Linked DNA regions of Homo sapiens: region 2 is linked to region 1. The links are contacts of gene promoters, found by promoter capture Hi-C in human tissues and cell types (Jung and others, 2019). All regions are on one chromosome and are shown on one strand. The core of a region is centred on a gene start or on the middle of the fragment in contact, and the rest is flanking DNA. Distances in the headings are between cores, read along the strand shown. Region 1 holds the start of SCN5A (sodium voltage-gated channel alpha subunit 5). Region 2 holds the start of LOC107986042 (a long non-coding RNA gene).

Evidence for each region. The method cuts DNA at HindIII sites, captures the fragments that hold promoters and counts their contacts. A contact is called where the count stands out against the background at its distance.
Region 2: a fragment that was not itself captured here is called in contact with the fragment with the promoter of SCN5A in region 1 in 1 of the 25 tissues and cell types used here (IMR-90 fibroblasts).

Annotation. Positions count from the first base shown.
Region 1 is chr3:38,645,785-38,652,330 of GRCh38, forward strand. SCN5A (sodium voltage-gated channel alpha subunit 5) reads right to left here and starts at 3,903. Exons shown (of 28, transcript NM_000335.5): 1 at 3,747-3,903. RefSeq lists a silencer at 3,862-4,021. The HindIII fragment of the contact is 3,470 bases long and covers 1,942-5,411 here.
Region 2 is chr3:38,817,314-38,823,859 of GRCh38, forward strand. LOC107986042 (a long non-coding RNA gene) reads left to right here and starts at 5,566. Exons shown (of 2, transcript XR_001740555.3): 1 at 5,566-6,546. The HindIII fragment of the contact is 5,571 bases long and covers 783-6,353 here.

The DNA.
Region 1 (6,546 bases), core at 2,653-5,152:
TCCCGACAGCCCTCCCTGACCCCACCCCTCGCCAGCTCCCTTCTATCTCTCTCCTCCCTCTTCAACCATCAAACTCTTTGAAAGAGCTGTCTATACATGCTGTCTCCACGTCCTCACCTCCAGCTCGCTTCTCAACCCACTCCAAACTGGCTTCCATTCCCACCAAGTCACTCATTCATTCATTCAACAAGAACCTGTCTGTACTGGGCCCTACATTCTGCGGGCGCTGAGTGGAGTTTCTCCTACCAAGGTCACCAGCACCCTCACCATGGCTCGATCTAATGGACACTTCTTTTTAAATTATTCATTCTTTTTCTATCTATCCATGAACTTCTGAGAATGCACCTTAAGTCTCTCAGCAGAAAGAAACAGGGCACTTTCCCTCCCCCCGAGCAGGGCACTCTCCTTGCCTTCTGCAGCGCCTCCTACTCCTGGCTTTCCTCCTACCTCTCTGGCTGCTCCTTTTCAGCCTTCTCTGCAGACTTCTCCTGCTTTGATGGTTGGAGTATTTCTGGGCTCCTGACTCAGCCCCCTTCCTTCTTACCCTCTACACCACGTTAGAATCACCTGGGTGCTTCCAAAACTCCCGATGCCCAGGCCTCATCCCAGGGTCAAATGAATTAGCATGTCTAGGGCTGGAGCCTGAGCATAGGTATTTTTACTTAAAGCTTTCCAAGTGATGCTAATGTCACCAGGAGTGAGAACCCCAGGTCTGCACTCTCGCTGGGCAATCTAACTCAGTGCCACATCTCCAATGACCAACCTCTGCTGAAAGCTCTAAGTTTCCATTTCCAGCCCAGATCTCCATCCTGAACATACTTCCTACCTGGACCCTTCCCTCCAACTACCTTCTGGATGTCAGCATCTGTCCCTGGAAGTACAACAGGTTCAAATCAGAACCATGAAACATCTGTCACTTTTCCTTTGCTCTTCATCAAGCTTGCCAACCCAAATTTAACTTGCCCATTCTTCTTCTCATGGTGCGCCAGGGGGCAGCACACCTCACTTAGTGAGACATTGGAGGTGGGGAATGGGAGAGCAGCATGTCACTTGACAGAGAAGGAAGATGGGACACCATAAGTTCTATTACCTGTGGTAAGCTGCCAGTCGCCTCTCCTTCAATGGAAAGACTTTGCATGGCACCCATGGTCTGAGCTGGGGAGGTGGTATAGTACACAGCAGATATTGACACTTGGGCTCAAACCCAAGTTCTGCTACTTAGAAAATGTGACGGTGTGCAACTATTTAACCTTTCTGGACCACCAGTTTCACCATCTGCAAAACGGCCATTATGATGGTCCCTACCTCTAGGGTTGATGCAAGGATTCAGTGAGATTAACCGTATAAAGCGCTTAGTGCCATGCCTGGCCTGCAGAAAGCACTCAGTGAATGTTAGCTATTTTTAGTAACATTACTGAGGATAAATTCCCAATTCCTGAGCAGAGCTCACAAGGGCCCCCGTGACTGTGACCTTGGCTTTAACTCCGCTCTTCTCTTCCTCACACCATGGGGCCCAACGAATCACTCAACTAATAATTGTGCTGTTTCACTTTTCTGTCTTTTGTACATACTGGTCCTGACAGCTAGACTGCACTGTCCTTGCCTGGAAAACTCCTATTCACCCTTCAAAACCCAGTGTGGAAGGTTATTTTTGTTAGAATAAGATTCTTGACTATTCCGGCCAAAGGTAACCACCTCTCCTGTGAATGGGCTCTGGGGACACACTTCTACCACTGCACACCCTTCCAATAACCTTCCCAAGAGTGAGCATAAGCCAGCCTCCTCTGAACAGAACACAAACTGCAATTTGCCACTGTCCCTGGCTGCCCTCAGGACTCCCTTCTCTTTGGATTGCCTGGGCACCAGCCTCCGCTCTTCTCCCATCCCCAGCTGTCTCTGGTGCTTCCCACTAGTCCTCCAAGCCCAATCTTCATGCTGAGTGAGTCAATACTAGAATTTTTCCAGAGGAGCTTTGATCAACACACAGAGAGGGAGCCGAGCACCTTGGAGCACAGCAGCTGCCCTTGCCACATTGGGCTGAATGCTGGCTCTTGGCACCCCAGGGCCAGTTCCCCTTCTGCTCAGATCCTCCTGGCTCAGTTCTAGGCTTATTTGCCCCACAGAAAGTAGATCTCAAGGTGTCTTCACATTGCGTGGTGCCCCCAATCCACTGATTCTCTAGATGACATTGAATAAGTCCTTGAGCTCCTCTGGGCCTCAGTTTCCCCACTTGTATGATATGGTAGTGATGACATGATTAAAAGTTTAATGAGGCTCTTTTCAGCACAGAGCTGGACACTGTAACATAGAATCTGTGTTCCACACCCTGGCTGTCACCTGACCTCACCCTCTCCATGCTCCTGCAACAGCAGCCTGACCACCCTCATTCCACCTCGCACTCATTACCACCGATTCATATGCACCTGCCCAATTCTAACTGAGTGGAGATGAGGTCAAACAGATGGAGTTGAGGGCAGCGGCAATGGCCTGGGCCCCCAGTAGCTGGGGCCTCTGCTGCTCACGGTCCCACTAGATCCTGAAGGATGGTGGGAACCTGGGAGAGGGCTTGGGATGCCATGGCATGGTGGGGGTCACGTGGTTTGCCATCTGGATGATACTGCCTAGGCTCACTGGGAGACACACCTGGGGTCTCAGCAGGAGGCGAGCAGATGCCTGGGAATGGAACATAGGCCCAGGACCTTAAGAGGAGATAGATCCCATGGCCCGGGGCTGGGCTGAAGGCACTGAGGAGCACAAGAGTGAGTCCTGCACTATCTTAGCCATGGCATCCTGATCTGGCTGTGCTCTGCTCTCCAACAGGTGTTTGCAAGGCAGGCCTACAGCCAGGGACTTGTCCCCAACATCATTTCCCCCCATCCTCATCACCACCACTAACAGTCCCCACACCTCTGGCCCCCACCAGCTCTTGGCCTCTCGGACAAAGCTTGGCACCTCCACTTTCTTCCAGAGCGCCACCAAAGACGATCAAATAACACAGAGGTCGAGAGCCACCTCCCATCAGGGTGCGTGGATCTGTTCCGGCTCAGAGAGAGGAGGGCAGAGAACTCTCTCCAATCTCACCGCAAAGAGATCTCCACCCCTTCGAGAAGCACAGAGATCAGACAGAGGAGATGCGGCCCCTTTAGGGCGTCAAAGGGCACCGAGATCTCTACATGGTCTAAACGCGCAGAGATCTCGTCCCACAGAGAGGACAGCCCCAGCGGACGGTTCCCCCTGGGCCCAGAGAAAGGGGGTGCGTGGCTTCCTCCCCCATATCCAGCCCTGCTCGGTCAGCCCCCGCAAACCCCGCTCTCTGGAACCACATTCATGGCGCGCCTAGTCGCCGCTCTGACCTTGGGGTCTCCGGCCTCCGGTATCCGGGTCCCAATCCCAGACCCTCCCCGAGCCTGCGCCAGGGATGGCCGGGAAGCTGGGGCCGCAGCTCCCCCTCCCCCGGCCCTCGACAGCGCACCGGGAAACCCGGAAGGAAAGGGAAGGGAAGGGGGGCGCACGGTGTTTAGAGACGTCTCCCCCGGGGATACCCTCCAGCCGGGCGGATCTGCGCCCCTTCTCCCCCTCCGGCTCTCTGGGGCACTGATCGGGGAGGGAGCGGCTGGGCGGACCCGGGGCAGGGAGGAGCACGCAGGGACTGGAGGCTTCGGCCCTCGGGGAGGAAAGTTGGGCGGCGGCAGGCGGAGGGGGCTCCGGCCGGGCCAGGGCTGCCGGGCGCGGGGGCACTCGCTCACCTGCTGGTCCCCCGGCCGGGCCCCGGGGTGGGCGGCTGCTGCTTGGCGCGGACTCGGCTCGGCGCGGGGCTCGGGGCACTGGGCGCAGGCTCAGCGGCCCCGGGGGAGCGATCCCTGCATCCTACGGGCGCCGCCGCCGTCTCGGCTCCGCGGCTCTGTTCGGGCTCCCGGGCTGGGCAGGCGGCGCGGGCTCGGGCTGGGGGCGGGGTCGGGGGCGGGGTCGGGGCGGGCCCCGCCTGGGTTCGGCCTGGGGCTTGGGGCCCCGGGCTGGCTCCGCCCCAGAGCGACGCGCCCAGGGCTCCGCACGTGGTGCTCCGCCCGCTCGGAGGGGGGACACACCAGCGCCCGCCGGGGCGCACACTCCCACACTGACCCGGGGGCTCACAGCCACAGACAGCCGCACACGCGGCCGCGGACAGACAGACATAGGCGGGGGTACACACACGGCGACCCGGCGACGCTTCACCACAGATGGCCACCCACGCGGACGCGGACAGGCTCACATTAACAAACACTGGCATACACACCAGCACCCGCCAGAGTATACACACACACACACGCAACCTTGCTGACTTGGGAAGGCTACCAGACACCCACCCACCCACGTGGACACGGGCATACACTGACACTCATGCCGAGACAGACACACGCTGCCATAGGCATACCTGCACTGACACAGACACACACATGCACCCTGAGACAGATACACACCCCCACACACCCACACAGACACAGACAGACACATCATTGACACACACTGACACTGAGGAAGACACTCTGACAAACTTAGACACCCACATGACTTAGACACACATCCACTGACACACTGACACAGAGACACACACACTCACTCGAACCACACTTTCCTGGAGACACACTTAGTGATGCCACAGAAATCTGCACAATGGTACACATCTACCTGAACACACGGACGCACATGCTGACAGAACCAAACACACACCCAGACCCAGAAGCAAGCAGGCAACCAACACAGAGACACCCACACACGCGCGCGCGCAAACACACACACACACATACATATATATACATGTATATACCTCTTTATATATATACTTCCACCCTCTTGAGCCACATACAACCTTCACCTTGACACATGCAGAGCCTGGAGTCACATACTTACACACCCACTGTTTCTCACTCAGAGACATGGTCACAGGCACACACACACGGAGACATACGCTGACAAACAGTTGCTCCCATGCCCATGCCCAGGACCTATGGGGACACACTTCTTGTTTAAACAAAACAGGCCATCAGGGCAACCCGCTTGGGTCCCCTTCCACGCTGTGGAAGCTTTGTTCTTTCCCTCTTCACAATAAATCTTGCGCTTCTAAAAACAAAAACAAAAACAAAACAAAACAACAACAAAAAACAGGCCATCAGCTTTTGCCCACGAAAAAAGTACAGTCATTGGAAGGGATGGTACACTTTTCTGCCACATTTTCAGGGCTCCCAAAAGCAAGAACCGCTCTTAGAGAGCCAAATGGGTGCCAGGGTCTCAGAGGGCACAGAGGTGCTGGGTTTGGGAGCCCAGAGGCTGGGACCTGCTCCTCCATGATGGGGATCTTGAAGAGGTGGGAGGGCAAAGAGGGGGGTGGGGGACAGCGTCCGTTTGCGACCTGGGTGTGGGGCTTCGTTGGACGCCTTAGGTACATACGGAGGGGCTGCTCTGCTTGCAGGAGGGGATCAGTAGGAAAGTCAGTCCACAGGAAAGTTCAGGACATGGGCCTCTCCGGCCCCGAGTTGAGTGGGGTGTCTGGGGTACAGACGGATGGACCACACAGGTCGGCTGCCAGCCTTTAGCGCCTGACGAGCCTCAGGTTGGCTAGCAGCTCCCACTATCGGCCAGAAGGGGAAGTGCAGGCAGTGTCAACGTTTCAACCCACGTGCAGCCGCCTTCCCAGAGTCACACCTACCAGGCAGGAGAGTACAGTAGCAGGAAGGTCCTACCTCCCCTAAGAACTTCCATCACGGGCTTCTCGGCCTCAGAATGAAGCTTCTACTTGCAAACTGACATTGGGTCAAGCAGGAGACAAGGCTAGGATAGAAGCTGCTGGGAGTAGGGGTGGATACCTGCCTCCCTTCCGTCCATATGTAGCAGAAGTGGGGTTTTCACTCTCCTGTTTAGTATTGGGCAACTGGATGTTGCCAGCAGGAGAGGTGGGCTGAGCCTGGTAAGTCTACATGCACCCTGAATTTAAACAGGGGGAGAGAAGCCCAGGGGATGGGGAACCAGAGCTCTGAACCTGTAGAAGTTCATCCATAAAAGCACACCTTGTGGTCCTAGAGAGGCCTCAGAGTGCAGAGACAGGCAACAGGTGTCTGGAGACAGGCACTTCCTACAAAGAGCCCTTGCCAAGATCTTGGCTACTCCCTTCTCTTTGCCAGACCCTATTTAAATTTTTTGTTTTGTTTTGTTTTGTTTTGTTTGAGACGGAGTCTTGCATTGCCTCCAGGGCTGAAGTGCAGTGGCGTGATCTCGGCTCACTGCAACCTCCGCCTCCCCAGTTCAAGCAATCCTCCTGCCTCAGCCTCCTGAGTCTCTGGGATTGCAGGTGCTCGTCACCATGCCCAGCTAATTTTTTGTATTTTTAGTAGAGACGGGGTTTCACCATGTTGGCCAGGCTGGTCTCGAACTCCTGACCTCGTGATTTACCCACCTCGGCCTCCCAAAGTGCTGGGATTACAGGCGTGAGCCACCATGTCTGGCCAACCCTATTTAATTAAAGCAATAACAGGAACATGTTGTCAGCTGTCAGAGATAAATGTTTTTAAAAAC
Region 2 (6,546 bases), core at 2,318-4,817, 170 kb after region 1:
GAGGAGGAGGATGCTTCCCCAACCCCGGCAAGCTTTTTAAGGTGCTTCTGCTGTCGGTCTATCCACACAATGAAAACTGAACTGCCTCGAAAGATGATGGTTCTGAAATATTTATGGGTGGAATGACTTGAGGTCTGGAATTTGCTGCAAAATGATTTATTGGCTCTGAGTAGATAATTGTAGAATTGGAGTAGGTAAGAATTTATTATATATTTTTTTCTACTTTGGTATATTCTTGAAATTTTCTGTAACAAAGTGTTTTTAAATTGTGATGCTCATGCAAAGGCATTAACACTAGGCTGTTACATGAAAACTGAATTGTGACACTTTGTTGATTCTAACTTTACGAAAACAAAATTCTGCGTACATGCAGAGAATACTGTGTGGAAGGAAAGACACTCAAAGTTTGAGTGTTTGTATGTGTGTAGTAGAATTATGGGTAATTCTAATTTTTTTTTTCTTCTCCCTTTTTTTTAAACTTCTCTCCATATTAAACTTGGCAATTTCAGAAAATTTAAAGAGCATGGTGAGGGCTCTGTCAGGATTTCTGCCCCCCTTGGTCTGGCGAGTAAGAAGGAGTAATTGCTGGGAGTGTTGACTGGGAGAAGGGAATCCTTCCTTCAGAGGGTATCCCCTGAGTGCCCCTGGACATACATTAAGCCCTGTCATCTTCCCTCAAATGAATCTGCACAGCTAGAAAAGGGCTTCTCTCTGGTTTTTGGAACCACCCTTTCCACTTGCTATCTCTCTTCCTCCCATCCTAGAACTAGGGCTTCAGAGTTCTCAGAAGGGCATTGTTAGGGGAAATAGCTGTGGAGTTTGTCATGGAGGGTCAGTGCTGCCACTGGTAAGTTTTGTGTCTTAATTTCTCTGGATCTCATTTTCTCCACCTGTGAAATAAACACATTGTTCAAGGAGACCTCTTAGCTGCCTTCTGGTTTTGTAGTTGGGTTTGAACTTAGAAATGTCATAAAAATCATTAACCATCTCTTTCCTTGTGGATGTTCAGAAGTCTTACCACACTATTGGTATGATGTGATCTTTTCCCTCCTGCAACTAATTACCACAGGGTTCATCTGAATATACTTGCAGATTGATGGTTCAGGAGAAGCTGCCAATATTGTTGTTGGTGTTTTTGTTGTTGTTGTTGTTGGGGTTTTGCTCTGTCTCCTGGGCTGGAGGGCAGTGGCATTATCATAGCTCACTGAAGTCTCGAATCCTTGGGCTTAAGTGATACCCCTCCTCAGTCTCCTAAGCAGCTGGGACTATAGGCGTGGACCACCATGCCCAGCTAATTTCTTAAGTTTTTTTTTTTTTTGATAGAGATGGAGGTCTCGATTTGTTGCCCAGGCTGGACTTGAACTCCTGGCTTCAAGCAGTCGTCTCACCTGTCTCCCAAAGTGTTGGAATTACAAGTGTGAGCCACTGCAATATGGCTGTTTTTATGGTGGTTCCCTTTGGATGGAAATACTTTTGCTCTTTGGTGTGCAAGGTCTGTGCCAAATGCCTTCACCATCTGAGGCAGAGTGGAAGCTTAGGGCACAGAGAGGGAAGGCACATGGGGAAAGTCACCTACTGGAACTTCATTTCAACACCCACAACTCCCCTCCTTATTCTTGGACCACTTATGGATGCTGGTTAGAGTCGGGGGGGTGCATCTGACAGAGTGAAAAGAGCCATTCCAGGGAACTTTAGATGTCTCACTGGAAGAAACTCTCTCAGCTCTGCACTGGATACTCATTCAAAAATACATTGCTAGAATATTGTTCAGCCATAAAAAGAAATAAACTACTGGCCGGGGGCCGTGGCTCATGCCTGTAATCCTAGCAATTTGGGAGGCCAAGGCGGGCAGATTGCCTGAGGTCAGGAGTTCGAGATCAGCCTAGGCAACATGGTGAAACCTGCTCTCTACTAAAATACAAAAAATTAGCCGGGCATGGTGCCGTGCCCCTGTAGTCCCAGCTACTCAGGAGGCTGAGGCAAGAGAATTGCTTGAACCCGGGAGGTGGAGGTTGCAGTGAGCCAAGGTTGGGCCATTGCACTCCAACCTGGGTGACAGAGCAAGACTTTGTCTAAAAAAAAAAAAAAAAAAAAAAAAAGAGAAAGTACTAATAAGTGCTACAACCTGGACAAAGCTTAAAAATAGTATGTTAAGTATGGCACATGTATACATATGTAGCAAACCTGCACATTGTGCACATGTACCCTAGAACTTAAAGCATAATAAAATAAATAAATAAATAAATAAAATTTAAAAAATAGTATGTTAAGTAAAAGAAGTCAAACACAAAAGGCCTCATATTTTATGATTCCATTTATATGAAATGTCCTTTCATAGACAGAAAATAGACTAGTGGTTGCCAAGGAAGGGGAGGAAAAGAAGTGAGTGCTAATGGGTATGGGGTTTCTTTTTACAGTGATAAAAATGTCTGGAATTAGATAGTGGTGATGGTTGCACTACTTTGTGAATATATTAAAAACCACTGAACCGTACACCTTAAAATGATAAATTTTGTGGTGTGGGACTTACATCTTAATTACAAAAAAAAAACTGTATTAAAATTACATGGAACTCTAGACCCTCCAAAATAAGAATAAGACTAATAAAAAGAAAGTACATGTAAAGCTGGTGCACTCTAAATAAAGCTTATACCTGAGTTAAAAATACTGAGTTAAAAAATATGTAGCCATATCAATTTATGGCGGTATACATATCATTGTATACTGGTTTATACAACGTGCTATGATTATAGAAGATATTATAATTGGGGAAAGGTGGGTAAACAGTACATGGAAACAATACTATTTTTGCAACCTTTTGAGAGTCTTTCAAAAGCCTTTCAAACTATTTCAAAATAAAATGTTATATATTTTTTATATTTATTTATTTAGAGATGGAGTCTCACTCTGTCGCCTAGGCTGGAGTGCAGTGGTGCAATCTCGGCTCACTGCAACCTCTGCCTTCAGGGTTCAAGTGATTCTTGTGCCTCAGCCTCCCGAGTAGCCGGGATTACAGGCACGCACCACCATGCCCGGCTAATTTTTTTATTTTTAGTAGAAATGGGGTTTCGCCATGTTGGCCAGGCTGGTCTCGAATTCCTGACCTCAGGTGATCCACTTGCCTCGGCCTCCCAAAGTATTGGGATTATAGGCGTGAGCCACAGTCCCCAGCCTAAAATGTTATATATTTTTAAAGATATTAAAGTAAGCATGATAGCAGATGGAAGAGTGGTGGCATACAGGGAGGGTAGGGAAGCTCTGGATTCATTGAGCACCCATGCAAGTGGCCTAATTCCTTTAGTGCCAGTTATTCATGGTGATACCTAGTGTTCTGTCGTAGGTTCCAAGGCTGTGTATGTAAAATGTCATAGGCAGCCCTAATTAAACCTTCTTTCCCAATGATCTACTGCTGGATAGGAGGCCAAATCTTAAATGATGAATCTCTTTAAGCTATCCAGAAGTGGTTCGTTTAAGGTACAAAAGAGCAAAGGAGGTGGGTGTTTAACATTCTGATGATATCTAGGCTGGGGGGTATTTGGTCCACTTTAGTGAGCCTGTCGGAGGTGGAAGGAGGCCCATTTCTGAAGGGCCCAGCTTCCTGTTTTAGGAAACAACAGGAAGTGTCTATAGCAGTGATAATGTATCATGATGAAAATTATTTCAAGGGACCTCGTAGTGACACCAGCTACTTACTCCTCTCACCCCCTCCAAACTCCAGTTAAAGGGGGAAATAATCTGACTCTTGAATTCCTATCCAGAGGGAGAAAGCTGGAAGAGGGAGAGGAATGGGTATATCCAAGGAAGGAAGAAATTTTCATGGGGGACCAAGATGGGACCCCCCCCATAATCCTGAGGGATTTCCATTTTTTCCCTGTAGACTCATGAATCTTCTCAGTTGATCCTTATCATTGGTGTTCAGCATAATTGGCCACATTCACCTTGCAGAAGCAAGCCCTTCCCTTGGCTTTTATTGGCAGAGGATCCTCTTCAGCCTCCATAGCTGGTTCTCCATCATCTGACTATTGAATCTTGACATTGCTTTAGGTATTGTCCTAGGCCCTCTTTTTGGTGATTTCATTCTCTCCTATAGCTTCAATTACCTTATACCTAAATGGCATCTAAGCCCTTATCTCCAATACAAATCTCTCCCCTACATTCTGGACTCATATATCCGTGAATGTAGCAAAGTCTCAAATCTCCATTTATGGGTATCTCATAAGCATCTCCGGTTGAGTATGTTTAAAACTGAGCTAGATATTTCTGTTCTCATGCCCCACTCCAAAATGATTCTCCTTCAGAGATCCTCCTCAGTCACCGTCTACCTGGACACTCAAGCCAGAAGTCTAGAGGTTATGCATGAGTCCCTCCTATTCCTCACCCCTACCTCCATTCCCTACCAAGTCCTTTAACTTGAACTCCTAGAAACTCCCTGATTCTACCTCCCTGGCCACCAACACGATACATCACTATCTTCTCTCCTAGATGACATTGGTGAACGCCCAGCAGGTTTCCCCCTATCATTTCACCACTCTGCAGCACATTCTCCAGACTGTTCTTTATGAAAATGAACATCTTGTCAGAAGACACCTCTACTGAGAACCTTCAAGTGCCTGCCCACTGCTGTTACAATGAAGTCCCCAATCCCAGAAGTAGTTTATGAGTTCTCCATGATCTGTCTTTAACAATGCCCCACCTTACCCATTCTTTCATACCCCAGTGATATTGGGCTGCTCTCAGATGCTTGAACACACCACACTCTTCCAGTTCAGAGTCTTTGTAAATGTTCTTGCTTGTTTTCTCACATCCCATTTATTCCCTTCCCTTCACTTACCAATTTTGAGTCATCCTTCTCTCCTCAAACTAAACATTCCCTGACCCTCCAAACCAAGGTGGAATACTCATGTTCTACTCTCCTATGAACTCATTTATTCATTCACTCGATACTTATTTATTGAGCACAGCCCATGTGTGAGGAGCTCACAGTCTAGTAGGGAAACAAAGACTGAACAACTAATTCTGAAAATGACCACGTTAATGCCTCTTGCAGTGACATTTCCTAGAATAACACAAACTCACACAGATAGCAGTTGGTAATTGGCTCTCATCCTTGGTGGTTGGCACAGCCTAGTCACTTCATGGACCTCATGACAATGCAACACATACTCTCCGCAAATGAACTTTTTGGGCCCCACATAGGGCATCATGGCAGGATTTTACTGTGCTACCAACTGCAATAGGAGTTTTGGGGGAAAAATAAAAGAAGAAGTACTTATGTCACTGTGGATAGAAAGCACTTCTTCAGGCAATTTGTTGAATGCCTATTGTCCCTACTATGTAATTATTTAGGTAGTGCTTAATGAAAATCTGCTTAATGAAAATCTATGCTCATGGCTGAAGATATGAAAATGAAAAGATGATGAAGTTCTGCACGCATGGAACTTACATTCTGAAGGGAGGGAGAGACAAAATATGCAATTAGATGAATTAACAAATGCATATTAAAAGACAATAATTATTCCTCAGAAGGCAACATATTTTGCAAAAATTTTTTCTTCTCTAGCCAACCAGAGACTTTTATAATGTAGACTAGTGTTTGCCCCTTTGACTCAATCTCCTCTTTCCATGCTATAGTACAGGAATCTTCCTGTACCTACTGGAGACATGCATTAGAGCCTTCTTCCCAGATAAGTTACAATCTTCCTTCTCTGTTTCATAGGTGTATGTCTTGTGTTCATCTCCCTGAAAAGTTTTATTTGGGCTCCTTAAGAAAAGTGTGACCATGTCTATTCTGGCATGCTTCACAGTGCTAGGCACACAGTAGGTCAACAAACAACACTTCTATGAGGCCAGGAGTTCCTCCAGAGCAGGACCCGTGCCTTGTTTCTAGATCTCCAGCCCTTAGCACCAGGCCTAGCTAGGTAGAGAGGTTCTGAGCTAAGACTTAGGAGAGGAATCCAGGAATTGCTCCTTTTAATAATTCATCAGCTTTTGTCACATGTGCATTGATCGAATTCTTTTGAATACAGGTTATGTTTTAACCTGGATAATAACAATCCCTTATACACACACAGTCTTTGTAGCTTGCAATTTATCTTTGAGTAATAAAACCCAGTGAAAATCTGGTGGATAAAACGGTCCTTACTTTATACGTGGAGAAACTGGGCTTAGAGAGGTTGAGAGGCTTCACCGTTGACGTCAGGCTATGAAATATCAGAATGAGGTCAGAATAAGATCTCCTGGTCCAAGGCTCCTGATACCAAAATTTCCCAAATGTGACTCTGGCCTTCTTTGGTTACTACCCGTTGGGTAAGTCAACTCCTTTCAGGTGGTAACCTGCACCGGGAACTGTGGCAGTGGCCTGATGAGGTGGCAGGGAGAGAATCATGGCCAGTTTCTTGGTTCCTCTGCTTTCCCTGTACCTCTCAGACTCTTAATCCATCTCTGTGTTCATGATGTGCCCTGGACACGGGCTGAGAGGTCGAGGAGGAGCCCAGGAATGAGGATGCGTTGGTGGAGCCTGGCCTTCCTGTCAGAACTCCAGACACC